Regions from separate parts of the Homo sapiens genome. Here regions 1 and 2 are each linked to region 3. The links are contacts of gene promoters, found by promoter capture Hi-C in blood cells and fetal thymus (Javierre and others, 2016). All regions are on one chromosome and are shown on one strand. Each heading gives the region's core, a stretch centred on a gene start or on the middle of the fragment in contact. The rest is flanking DNA. Distances are from core to core; before and after follow the strand shown. Region 1 overlaps TFB1M (transcription factor B1, mitochondrial). Region 2 has its middle 11 kb from the start of TFB1M. Region 3 holds the start of ARID1B (AT-rich interaction domain 1B).

What was found. The method cuts DNA at HindIII sites, captures the fragments that hold promoters and counts their contacts. A CHiCAGO score of 5 or more calls a contact.
Region 1: a contact is called between a fragment that was not itself captured here and the fragment with the promoter of ARID1B in region 3, in 1 of 17 cell types (monocytes). The highest score is 5.8, in monocytes.
Region 2: a contact is called between a fragment that was not itself captured here and the fragment with the promoter of ARID1B in region 3, in 2 of 17 cell types (naive CD8 T cells and M0 macrophages). The highest score is 6.0, in naive CD8 T cells.

The regions. Positions count from the first base shown.
Region 1 is chr6:155,303,774-155,308,504 of GRCh38, forward strand. All of the region lies in intron 2 of TFB1M (transcription factor B1, mitochondrial), which reads right to left. Among named protein-coding and RNA genes, the nearest start is that of TFB1M, 8.3 kb to the right of the region's middle. The HindIII fragment of the contact is 1,578 bases long and covers 2,660-4,237 here.
Region 2 is chr6:155,322,894-155,327,482 of GRCh38, forward strand. No RefSeq gene overlaps it. Among named protein-coding and RNA genes, the nearest start is that of TFB1M, 11 kb to the left of the region's middle. The HindIII fragment of the contact is 534 bases long and covers 1,826-2,359 here.
Region 3 is chr6:156,775,697-156,780,024 of GRCh38, forward strand. It overlaps ARID1B (AT-rich interaction domain 1B), which reads left to right and starts at 1,682. Exons shown (of 20, transcript NM_001374828.1): 1 at 1,682-3,775. The coding sequence starts at 1,985. LOC115308161 (a long non-coding RNA gene) reads right to left here and starts at 2,822. Exons shown (of 2, transcript NR_163974.1): 1 at 2,550-2,822; 2 at 664-1,735. MIR4466 (microRNA 4466) reads right to left here and starts at 4,035; the gene lies at 3,982-4,035. RefSeq lists silencers at 1,406-1,755, 1,776-2,015, 2,166-2,315, 2,386-2,455, 2,706-2,935 and 3 more and an enhancer at 2,899-3,434. The HindIII fragment of the contact is 6,833 bases long and covers 1-4,328 here.

The sequences.
Region 1 (4,731 bases), core at 2,199-4,698, 1.5 Mb before region 3:
TGGCTACTGGGATTATGCCAGGCTCTTTACATCCATTTCTATCCATCTTTGCAATATCCACAGAAGAGAACTATTATTCCCATGCTGCAGATGAGAAAGTTGAAGCTAAAAAAGGTTTAACAGCAAGCTTAAGGTCACAAAGCTAGTAGGTGGCATATCTGAGATTTGGTCACTAGACTATTTGATGCTCAATCCCATGAACTTTCCACTATGCCAATGAAGTATGGAAATAACCAGTGTTTACCTATAAGAAAACCCAAAGGTTAGGAGGCCAAGGCAGGTGAATCACCTGAGTTCAGGAGTTCGAGACCAGCCTGGACAACATGATGAAACCCAGTCTCTATTAAAAATACAAAAAATTAGCTGGGCATGGTAGCGGGCGCCTGTAATTCCAGCTACTCGTCAGGCTGAGGCAGGAGAATCGCTTGAGCCTGGGAGGTGGAGCTTGCAGTGAGCCGAGATCACGCCACTGCACTCCAGCCTGGGCACCAGGAGCGAAACTCTTGTCTCAAAAAACAAACAAACAAAAAACCAAAGGCAATACTAACAATACAATGACTTACTTTCTCTCTCCAAAAATTCCTCAAAACAACCACATAATTTAATGGTTAAGAAGAATCCTGAAACTTCCTACTCCGACAAAGATGGAGTCTAAGGGACCAGGCATATTCTCCTACCTTAAACCAATTTAAAAAACAGAGAAAATAGATGAAACAAAATTTTCAGACATTAGACAACAAAAAGCACAGGAAAACCTACAGATCCAAGAAGCTCAATGAATTCTACACACAAGAAACACGAACAAAGCTACTGTAAGCACATCATGATGAAATTGCTCAAAAACAGTAGAAAGTATCAAAAGCAGCCAGAGAAAAAAGAACAAAGGTAAGGATGAAAAAAGATTTGTCAGAAACTTTTTGCAATGCAAAAAGTTTGTCAGAAACAATGCAAGTGAGAAAATGGCGGAGCAACTTTTTTAGAGTAATAAAACAAAATACTGCCACAATATTTTCCAAAAATGAAGGCAAAAATGAAGGCTTTTTCAGTCTTCAGTCTATAGTAATAAATACAGGTGGCTGTTGGTGAAACAATAGACCTATAGATAAATAGAACAGAATTGGAAGTTCAGAAATAAACCGACACACATAAAACCAACTGATTTTTGACAATAGTACTAAGGCAATTCAATGAGGAAAAGACAGTATTTTCAAAAAATGGTGTTAAAAAAAGAACCTAAACCTTACCTCACACTATATGCAAGAATTAGCTCAAAATGTATCAAAGACCTAAATGTAAAAGCTAAAATTATAAAATAATTTTATATTATTTATATATTATATATTTATATATATACATAATTATATATTTATATATATAAATATATATTAAATTATATATTTATATATATATTAAATTATATATTTATATATATATTAAATTATATATTTATATATATATATTAAATTATATATTTATATATATATTAAATTATATATTTATATATATATATTAAATTATATATTTATATATATAAACATATATTAAATTATATATTTATATATATAAATATATATTAAATTGTATATTTATATATATAAATATATATTAAATTGTATATTTATATATATAAATATATTATTAAATTATATATTTATATATATAAATATATATTAAATTATATATTTATATATATAAATATATATTAAATTATATATATAAATATATATTAAATTATATATTTATATATATATTAAATTATATATTTATATATATAAATATATATTAAATTATATATTTATATATATATTAAATTATATATTTATATATAAATATATATATATTAAATTATATATTTATATATATAAATATATATTAAATTATATATTTATATATATAAATATATATTAAATTATATATTTATATATAAATATATATTAAATTATATATTTATATATATATTAAATTATATATTTATATATATAAATATATATTAAATTATATATAAATAAAACAAATTTTTAGTGATCTTGGTTTGGCAAATATTTTAAAAATAAGACATAAAAAGCATAAAGTCTAGAAGAAAAAACTGATAAATTGCACTTCATAAACATGAAACTTCTGTTCTTCAAAGACATTGTTAAGAAAATAAAAAGGTAAGCCACAGCTGAGAAAACATTTGTAAAATCTGTATCTGACAAAGCCTCACATCTGAACCATATAAATATCTCTTAAAATTCAATAAGACAAAAAAAGTAAAAGTACTAAAAATATTTGAACAAATAATTCCCCAAAGAAGATACAAAGATGGCAAATAAGCACATCGTATGTCCAGTATTATTATCTATTAGGGAAATGCAAATAAAAACCACAAGAGGATACCATTACATATTCACTAGGATGGCTAAAATTAAAAAGACTGACCATACCAAGTCTGAGCAAGCATGTGGAGCAATGGGAGCTCTGAAATACAGCTGGTGGGAATGTAATATGGCACAGTCATCTTATAAAACAATTTGGTATTTCTGTAAAAAGTATAATATACGTCTACCACAGGACCCGGATATTCTACACAGGACCCGGATATTCTACTCCTAGGTCTTTACTCAAGAGAAATGGAAGTGTGTATCCACACAAACACTTGCATATGAATGTTCATAAAAGCTTTATTACAGTATAAGAGCCAAAAAAGGGAAAAACCCAAAGTCTATCAACAGGTGAATAGATTCACAAATTTGGTATATTCAGAAAATGGAATGCTATTCAGCAATAAAAAGGAGCAAACTACTGATAAACACCTCAACATGGATGAACTGCAAAATAATTATGCTAAGTAAAAGATACCAGACCAAAAAAAAAGTACATATTGTATGATTCCATTTATATAAAATTCTGAAAAATAAAAAATAATCTACAGTGACAGCAGATTAGTGGTTGTCTGAGATAGATAAAGGGGGAAGGAAGGGACAGATTACAAAGAAACATGAGGAATCCTGAGGACGATGAGTGTTTATTTTCTTGATTGTGATAATGGTTTCATGCAATCACATATATGTCAAAACTCAGTTAACTGGACGCGGTGGCTCTTGCCTGTAATCCCAGCATCTTGGGAGACTGAGGTGGGCAGATTGCTTAAGCCCGGGAGTTTGAGACCACCATGTAGAAATGGTGAAATCCCATTTCTACAAAAAAATACAAAACTCAGCCAGGCATGGTGGTGTGCACCTGTAGTTCCACCTACTCAAGAGGCTGAAGTGGGAGGATTGCTTGAGCCCAGGAGGTCAAGGCTGCAGTGAGCTGTTGAGTTGTGCTTGTGTCACTGCACTCCAGCCTGGGTGACAGAGTGAGACCATGTCTCAAACACATACACACACACACACACACACACACACACACATATACACACAGACAAATCCTCAGTAATTTGTACACTTTAAGTATGTGCAGTTTACTGAGCATCAACTGTATCTCAACAAAGCTGTAAAACAAAGTGTATTAGCTCGTTTTCATGCTGCTGCTCATAAAGACATTCCCGAGACTGGGCAATTTACAAAAGAGGTTTAGACTCACAGTTCCACATGGCTGGGGGAGGCCTCACAATCATGACGGAAGGCAAGTAGGAGCAAGTCACATCCTACGTGGATGGCAACAGGCAAAGAGAGAGCTTGTGCAGGTAAACTCCCATTTTTAAAACCATCAGATCTTGTGAGACCCATCCACTATCATGAGAACAGCACAGGAAAGACCCACCCCCATGATTCAATCATCTCCCACTGAGTCCCTCCCACAACACATGGGAATTACGGGAGCTACAAGAGGAGATTTGGGTGAGGACACAGAGCCAAACCATATCACAAAGTATTTACTGTGATAAACTCTCCATAAATATTAGCTATTATTATTTTTAATATATGAAGCCTTTAAAACAGTGCTGTGCAATTGCAATCTTTTGGCTTCCCTCGGCCACACTGGAAGAAGAACTGTCCTGGGCCACACATAAAATACACTAACGATAGCAGATGAGCTTAAAAAAAATGCAAAACAAATTTCATAATGTTTTAAGAAAGTTTAAGAATTTGTGTTGGGCCGCAGGCAGCCCGTGGGCCGTGTGTTGCACAGGTTTGCTCTAAAATAAACAGAAAAAAAAAAAAAATGAGAGGAAATCTGTACTACTTCTCTGAAAGGGTACGAGTGATTTACGAATTTATCTCCAGTTCACAAATGGAGAAGAACCTATCAAAGCTTCAAATTCCCTGAGATGTCAGGAAATCTAAGTTATTTCCAGTTCAGAAAGAGGAAAAACCTATCAAGGCCTCAAGCTCCTTGAGATTCAGGAAATCTCCTCACTCCTCTCCACAGCACAGAGAATCCAGTCAGTCATAAAAATGTAACAAGAAACAACGAAAAACTTAAAAACCTAGAAATGCACAATCAGAATGTGACAACATCAAGAAAAGAAACCCTAGGTGTCCAATGCAAGTTTGATGAGTTGGAAAACACCCCAATGTTTCCATAGCACTGGAGAATTTTCTAGTGCTCCAATGGAATAACACGACTTCCTCCTATACCTCTTTCCAGATCAGCAGTCTCCTGATCAGTCATTAATCACCAGAGGTAATCAAGGCATGGGGATAATAATTTAACTGATTACTTATAACTAAGATATTATTCAGTGCTTTCTAAGTATCAGGCATACACTGAATCCTCATATGAGTCCTAAGAGCAAACTGAGGC
Region 2 (4,589 bases), core at 843-3,342, 1.5 Mb before region 3:
CATTCTTTTGCTTCATTATTTAGAGGCATTGACAATTTTAACACTGGAGAGTTATCTTCAGGACAGAATTACAAATGTTATACCTTAACACTAGTGCATCATTTGATCTTAACTGTTGTCCACTTTGAAACTATTCATTTTAGGCCTATTTGGCACCTTTCTTGTTCTTTTTGGGGATGGGAGTGAGGAAGGGTCAGTGGTTTCTAATTCAGCAGAAAGGTTTAGGTAACAATTATACCAAATCAAGTGGAGGTGCAAAATATAAAATCTTGAATTATCATAATAAAATGTTAAATTGTGTTGTGAAATTATATACATTATGTTGTGATGGAAATCCTGTAATTTTAGATTATCTTCAAAACCGTTTGCTTAAAAGTCTTATAAATGGTAGGGACTATGGGGAAGGAAAGAAGAGTGCTGGCTTAGGACTATAATAACTACAACAGTTCATTTATCTTGCATTATGTTTTATTATATCATGTCATAATATAATATAAACATCATACCCTATCATAGCATATCATATTATAATTTATATATTATTTACGAGTTAAATAGGCTTTTGTAGTTTCACCTAGGAATCCAATTATGGCTTAAACTGTTTTTAGTTTAAAGTTTAGTTTATTTTTAGTTTAAACTGTGTTTAAGTCATGATGGATTCCTAGGTGAAACTACAAAAGCATATTTTAATGACTTCCTATTTCTATAGGAAAAATGCCTACCAAATTCCAATGAATTTAGGAATGATTTGTTGCAGATTGCCAAACCAAGTTTTTGTAACTGTCCCTGTTATTCTTATTCTCTTGTGCTTCGATCTACAGCCAACGGTTTTTTTGGTTTTTTGTTTTTGAGACAGAGTCTCGCTTCTTCACCCAGTCTGGAGTGCAATGGTGTGATCTCAGCTCACTGCAATCTCTGCCTCCCAGGTTCAAGCAATTCTCCTGGCTCAGCCTCCCCAGTAGTTGGGATTACAGGCATGTGCCACCACGCCTAGCTAATTTTTGTGTTTTTAGTGGAGATAGGGTTTCACCCTGTTGGCCAAGCTGGTCTTGAAAACTCCTGACCTCAAGCGATCCACCCACCTCGGCCTCCCAAAGTGCTGGGATTACAGGCGTGAGCCACCATACCCGGCCCCAACCCTTTATTTCTCATATGTATTATTCAAACTTTTTAGACCATGACCCACAGTAAGAAATGCCTTTTACATTGTAACCCTATGTATACACCCACCCACCCACACATTTAAAAGTTTGATAAAACATTCTATATGTGTGAAGCAATCTTTTACAAACTATTTTCTAAACTATTTGCCTTTTAAAAAGTGATTGTTACAAAACTTATTATAATAATTATTACTGCCCAATAATGGGTTATGACCTGCTGTTTGTAAAACACTGTCTTACTTTCTTATTAGTGCCTAAGCCTAAAGAGTGTAACATGGTATACTGATCCATTATCTCTGTCAGTTTTCCTTCATTCGCTTGCCATGACTATCTTTGTAACTCAGATGACAGACTTTTTTTGTTTGCTTTTTAAGTTTGGGAACCACTAGCAGTGCAGGTCACTAACAAATGTGGTAGGCATGTAATTTAAATGTATATACTCTCAACTTAATTTATTGTAAAATGTAATGATTCGTGTCCTGTGAGAAAAGTTGTGTACTATTTTCCCACTCTCTTATATGCATTGGCTTTTTGGGAGTCTTGTGGTGTATGTCCTTTTCTTGTGTATTAAGTGGAACATAGAGCATTTTGCTTCTTTTTTTTTGTTACAGGAAAAAGGGCCTTCACTGTTAGAGGAAGCTTTGGGAAGAAATGGTCCTGGAAGCTTATATAATTTAGGAGGCTTTCTTTAAGAAAAGAATACCACATTATAAATGTAAAATTAAGTATCAAAACCATTTATTTGGACTAAGAAAAGGACTGACAAGAAATGACAGATACTTAATGACAAACAGCACAAAAAACAACATCCTGAAAAGTAATAGAATATTTTTTATTTTAAAAGTAAATGAATACATTTTATTTTATTTAGCCTAATATTTAATCGAATTTCCTACTTTCAGACTTCTTTGATAATTTTTCCCTTCCATTTCTGAAAGCAAATTCTTTAGTTTCATCTTCATATGATAATGTTTTAGGAATAACATTCCATAGAGAGAATAGAAAGATAATTTAGTCTTTCTTCTACCATGATGGATTACAGTTTGTTTTTTATTTTTGATAATTTAGAAACATTTCATATAGCTTTCACAACTCATAGTTGACAATGTCATGTAAATTGTTAGGACTGTTCTCAAATTTGGAAACCTCTATTAAGTTTTTGGCACATATGATCTGTTTGTTTTCAAGGCATTTCAAGCTTTCTAGTGCACTATCCTATGTTGAGTACTTTGAATTAATGACAGTCATTAACCAGTTTGTCATAGGTGTACTCATTGTGGTGATGTATTTTGAGTTTATATTTTATTCATTGATATCAATATTTGGTGTCAAAAAATTGGGGTATTTAATTTTTTCCAGTGTATTCACATGACTCACTTGTGTTTATTAATTGTGTTATCAAATAATCCATAAGCCTATCATTATTTTTACTCTATTCTTCTGACTGCATTTGATATGCTGAATGTTTTTGTTGCAATTTACTTCTTGATATTGAAATAATTTCTATTGATTTTATTGCTCACTCTGTTGCTTTTGTGTCTTACTCTATTACTTTTTTATTGACATTTTCTCTCAGTTCTTTAAATACTTGATTTAAAGATAGCAGAAAGAACACTCCATATTCTCCCAACAGGAGTCTGTAATTTTACATTTATTTTACTGAAATGTTCTGAAACATCTTGCCAAATTTCAGTTAAAATGTGTATTTCTAACTCAATTTCCCCTTTAGCTAGATTCCCAAAGTACTCTCCGTCACCAGAATACAACCTGAAAAGAGACAGTGGTCTTGACTGACTAGGGTTAAAATGTCTTGCCTTTGTAAATTTTACAAAAACATATACCATGTGAGTAGATTTCTAGAGCCCTTCCCAAGGCTTGAAAATGGCTTGTTCGAGTGATAGGCCCTGACATTTCAACTTCTCATGCTTCCTAGTTAATCTGCTTGTATACAGGGAGAAAGGCCAGACTGAACAACCTCTTGGGACACCATTATTAGAGACTAGATGTGTCATCAAGGCAAAACAGGGCTTCTCTACAATGCAGAGTCAGTTGTTTGTATTCCCTGAAAATCAGGCCCTGAGGCAAGGGTGTGGATGCAGGTTGTTTGTTTAATTGCCCCTCCTGGAGAGGTAATCCCAGGAAGCACAAGTGAGGAAGTCGGGAAAATGCCATGGGAAAAGGAGAAAGGCCAATTCCAGGGGTTAGGGAGTAGTTTCATGTTAGGGCTCCAGGGCAACTGGGGCTCAATCCCAGGGGATCTTTTGAAAAACCGTGTGCAGCCCAACTCAGCATTGTCCCACCAGAAGCTGGGGAGGCTCCAAAGCCCCCAGGCATGGAAGACAGCAGGGGAGGTGGGGAGCTGTCAGTTTGCCTGGATCACAGCTGCAGATGAACTCAGGAGGACCATACGGATCTGGGGTGGGGCAAAGCCAGGCAGCATCCGCTACCCTCTGTGAATCTTATTCACCTGAGTTTAGGAACTCAGAATTATTTAGAGTGATAAGGACTCTTCAATGTTGTGGATCTTTCTCATGCCATAAAGAGGATTTTGAAGTTAGTGGACAATGTGAAGTCATCCCTAACTTGCCAGAGGAAGTGTTCAAATCCAAGTACTGAAATTCTAGAATCAAGACATTTTGAACCAGAGATGAGTATTCTTTTTTTTTTTTTTTTTTGAGACGGAGTCTCCCTCTGTCGCCCAAGCTGGAGTGCAGTGGCGCGACCTCGGCTCACTGCAAGCTCCGCCTCCCGGGTTCACGCCATTCTCCTGCCTCAGCCTCCTGAGTAGCTGGGACTACAGGTGCCCGCCACCATGCCCGGCTAATTTTTTGTATTTTCAGTAGAGACGGGGTTTCACCATGTTATCCAGGATGGTCTCGATCTCCTGACCTCGTGATCCGCCTGCCTCGGCCTCCCAAAGTACTGGGATTACAGGCGTGAGCCACCAAGCCTGGCCAAGTATTCTCTTTAAACTGAAAGAAGGCATAGTTAGAATTTCTAATTGCCTTTAATTAAATCTATCACCTCCTAAGTATAAACAAAAGTGGTGAAATATTTTTGGATATACCAACAATGAACAGTTCATTAATGAGAATGAATTTTACCTTTCTGACGGTTCCCATTACATAACTTTATTCATTTTGAGGAAGGCAAGGGCTGACCATTTTATGCTCATCTACTATGGTCACCTATTAAAGGCTGGAATTATGATAATCCAAGGGGGAAAATAAAATATTTAAAATGAGATTGGTCTAAGTAGGAGAATGAACATCAGGCTAAGTGTTAATTTTGTCCCATTTAGTCAGCTCCATAAATCTTGAGAAGCCATTTTTCTTCTCTGTGCCTCAGTGTCCTCATCTGTATGTTAGAGGGCTTGGATTGGCTGATCCTGAAGGTCACCTCCAGTTCTGAGGTAGTCCTTGAAAA
Region 3 (4,328 bases), core at 432-2,931:
GTAATGCGTATAATTAGTATGTATTTGAATATATAAAGGGAGAAAATCCAGGAAAAAATGTCAAAAAGGCACACTAACAAAGATGTAGTATTCTCTTGGCAAAAACTGATGAATGATTTGGCACGAATTCATCTTATGGTTCTGTTATTCTCTCTAACACACGATGATATATCCCGTTTTCCAGTTGTTTGCGTAGAATTGCAATTTGTTGTTTCTACACTCTATAATGACCCTTGGGTGTGCACCTGATTCCCTCCCCCCGACCCCAATTAGTCACCAGTTTTCCCATCAATCCTTTTCTATTTAGTCATGTAACATATTTACACTTGGTCAAACAAATAACCACTGCTGCAGTGGAAATGAACTAAAATAGTTTTTATGGAAAGCTGAAGAATGAAATAATTTTGGAAAACTATACTCTACCAAAACCGTAAGTATTGTTTCTGCCAGGTTTTAAATGCTTTCTCTCAATGAAAACTGAGTCCACACTAGTACAAGTGGGTCATTGCCTAAGGTTAAGAAGTCTTGCTTTTTAAAATGTTACTAGGGGACAATGCACATATTGAAAACATTAATAACAATGCAAATATTAAAAACATTATAAAATGTTAATAGACACCAATTTTTAAGAGAACAAAGTATGGAACATTTCTACATTAGGACTAGAGTTGACTGTTTTATATTATTATTGAAGTTATATTTATTAAATATAATGTCTATAATATTTTAGTTTCGTTCCACATCTCTTTGAAATGAATGTATATCGAGAGGGTTAACTGTGCACACGAAGCTCTGAAACATGATGAAAGGTGTCATATAGATTTATGAAGATACGAGCTAACCCATAGCTGTCGCTGTTCTGGCACCAAGAGTTAAATGTTCATGTGAAAGTTGGCGCAGAAAACACCACTGTACATACTCCACAGAGGACATCCAAGTGCATGTAAGAAAAATGCTCCTTTGGGAATACGTGGACATATTCCTTTGGAAATACACTGACAAACCTACATACGTGTTTAAGGTGCCTTCAAAAAGAGTTATGTAAACATTCTCTTTGGGGCGGGTGCAGTCAGTCATAAGCATTTATTGAGTACCTACTGGGTACAGGCCATAGGGCTCTCTGACCGGGGCTAACCTTCATTTCAAATCTTTCCTAATTTTGCAGTTGGAAGAAGTTGTGGGAATTACGCCGATGGCCCGAAATCAAGGCAGAGGCGAACGTTCTGAAAATTACATAACTCCTGGGAGAGACCGTGCTTTTGCAGATTGCCTAAATATTTTCTTTCTCCGTCGGCTCCTTGTAACCTCTGAGGCCAATAGACAACTTTGTTTCCCAGCCCTTCTCCCTCTTTTGTCTGCTCGTCAGACTCGTTTTCCACCTTTGTATCGTTCCTTTTAGACGTGAAAACAAACATGCGAACGCCCGGTTGGCAAGGAGACAGCGGCCCGGGGGGAAAGTGCAGGTTCCGGCCGCCCCACGCCGCCGCGCTCCGAGCGGCCGCCGAGCCGCCCCGGCCCCGGCCCCGGCCCCAGCCTTAGCCCAAGCCCGGCTGGGTCCCGCGAGGCTGCGCCGGGGCGGGCGGCGGCGGCCCGGGGACGAGTCCAGTCCGCGTTTTGCGAGTGCGCGGGAGTAATGCGAGCGAAGTGGATAATAGTTGCTCGAGCTCGCCCGCTGCCTCTCAAGCCATGCTGGGCCCGATAGGCTCAGCTAGTCGTGTATTTACCCATATCCGGGCTAGAGAGGAAAAGAGAAAAGTTTCATTTAAACCTGAACTAAAAACTTTCACCATGAAAGCACACAGCAGGAGCAGGCCCAGAGCGTAAGGCGTGCCCGGCCCGGCGCTCCGGCGGGGCCTGCGGAGGGGGAGGGGGTCGCGGCTTCCCGGCGGGCCGCGTGGATGCGCACAGGAGGGGCCGCGGCCTGAAAAGTGGGGGTTATTGTCTCCCCCCGCCCCCCGCCCGGCCTCGCCACGCCGCGGCGATCATGGCCGCGCGGGCAGCAGCGGCGGCGGCGGCGGCGGCGGCGCGGGCGCGGGCGCGGGCAGGCAGCGGCGAACGGCGGGCGCCCCCCGGGCCGCGGCCGGCGCCCGGAGCCCGGGACCTGGAGGCGGGGGCGCGCGGCGCGGCGGCGGCGGCGGCGGCACCGGGACCCATGCTGGGGGGCGGCGGCGACGGCGGCGGCGGCCTGAACAGTGTGCACCACCACCCCCTGCTCCCCCGTCACGAACTCAACATGGCCCATAACGCGGGCGCCGCGGCCGCCGCCGGCACCCACAGCGCCAAGAGCGGCGGCTCCGAGGCGGCTCTCAAGGAGGGTGGAAGCGCCGCCGCGCTGTCCTCCTCCTCCTCCTCCTCCGCGGCGGCAGCGGCGGCATCCTCTTCCTCCTCGTCGGGCCCGGGCTCGGCCATGGAGACGGGGCTGCTCCCCAACCACAAACTGAAAACCGTTGGCGAAGCCCCCGCCGCGCCGCCCCACCAGCAGCACCACCACCACCACCATGCCCACCACCACCACCACCATGCCCACCACCTCCACCACCACCACGCACTACAGCAGCAGCTAAACCAGTTCCAGCAGCAGCAGCAGCAGCAGCAACAGCAGCAGCAGCAGCAGCAGCAACAGCAACATCCCATTTCCAACAACAACAGCTTGGGCGGCGCGGGCGGCGGCGCGCCTCAGCCCGGCCCCGACATGGAGCAGCCGCAACATGGAGGCGCCAAGGACAGTGCTGCGGGCGGCCAGGCCGACCCCCCGGGCCCGCCGCTGCTGAGCAAGCCGGGCGACGAGGACGACGCGCCGCCCAAGATGGGGGAGCCGGCGGGCGGCCGCTACGAGCACCCGGGCTTGGGCGCCCTGGGCACGCAGCAGCCGCCGGTCGCCGTGCCCGGGGGCGGCGGCGGCCCGGCGGCCGTCCCGGAGTTTAATAATTACTATGGCAGCGCTGCCCCTGCGAGCGGCGGCCCCGGCGGCCGCGCTGGGCCTTGCTTTGATCAACATGGCGGACAACAAAGCCCCGGGATGGGGATGATGCACTCCGCCTCCGCCGCCGCCGCCGGGGCCCCCGGCAGCATGGACCCCCTGCAGAACTCCCACGAAGGGTACCCCAACAGCCAGTGCAACCATTATCCGGGCTACAGCCGGCCCGGCGCGGGCGGCGGCGGCGGCGGCGGCGGCGGAGGAGGAGGAGGCAGCGGAGGAGGAGGAGGAGGAGGAGGAGCAGGAGCAGGAGGAGCAGGAGCGGGAGCTGTGGCGGCGGCGGCCGCGGCGGCGGCGGCAGCAGCAGGAGGCGGCGGCGGCGGCGGCTATGGGGGCTCGTCCGCGGGGTACGGGGTGCTGAGCTCCCCCCGGCAGCAGGGCGGCGGCATGATGATGGGCCCCGGGGGCGGCGGGGCCGCGAGCCTCAGCAAGGCGGCCGCCGGCTCGGCGGCGGGGGGCTTCCAGCGCTTCGCCGGCCAGAACCAGCACCCGTCGGGGGCCACCCCGACCCTCAATCAGCTGCTCACCTCGCCCAGCCCCATGATGCGGAGCTACGGCGGCAGCTACCCCGAGTACAGCAGCCCCAGCGCGCCGCCGCCGCCGCCGTCGCAGCCCCAGTCCCAGGCGGCGGCGGCGGGGGCGGCGGCGGGCGGCCAGCAGGCGGCCGCGGGCATGGGCTTGGGCAAGGACATGGGCGCCCAGTACGCCGCTGCCAGCCCGGCCTGGGCGGCCGCGCAACAAAGGAGTCACCCGGCGATGAGCCCCGGCACCCCCGGACCGACCATGGGCAGATCCCAGGTAACCCTCGCGCCAGCCGGGCCTGCTTCCGCCCGGCGGCCTCGCCGCGCCGCGAGCCTGAGTTTCTTTCTTTGCCGCGTACTTTTCCCCGTCTTCCCGCGGGGGCGGCGGGGGCGCGGCGCCCAAAGCCATCTTGACGGGCGGCCGCCTCCCGCCGCGGTCGGGGCGCCCCGGGGGCCGGCGCGCTGTCCAGGCCTGGGAGGGCTTCGCCGGGCCGGGCCGGGCCGGGTGGCTTCTACCCCGCCGGCCCGCACCCGCGTCCCCCCCCTCCCCCAGGCCCGGGAACGCGAAGCGAGATCCCGAGGCGCCACCCGCGCGGTCGCCGTTTGGGGCGGCGGGGACCGTTCGGGTGCTTTTGTAACAAATAGGCTCTCCCGGCCAGGACGGCTGGGGCGAAGAGCCACCCGATCGGTTCTGGGAGCGCCCACAATGTGCTTTAACGGGGGAAAGAATGAGGAACTTTCTCACACCTTTAGCCACAGCACGTTCCCTCTTGGCTTCCGAGGTCCAGGCAGGGAAAATAGGTTAGCTTTGTGACAAGCGAGTGGGTTTT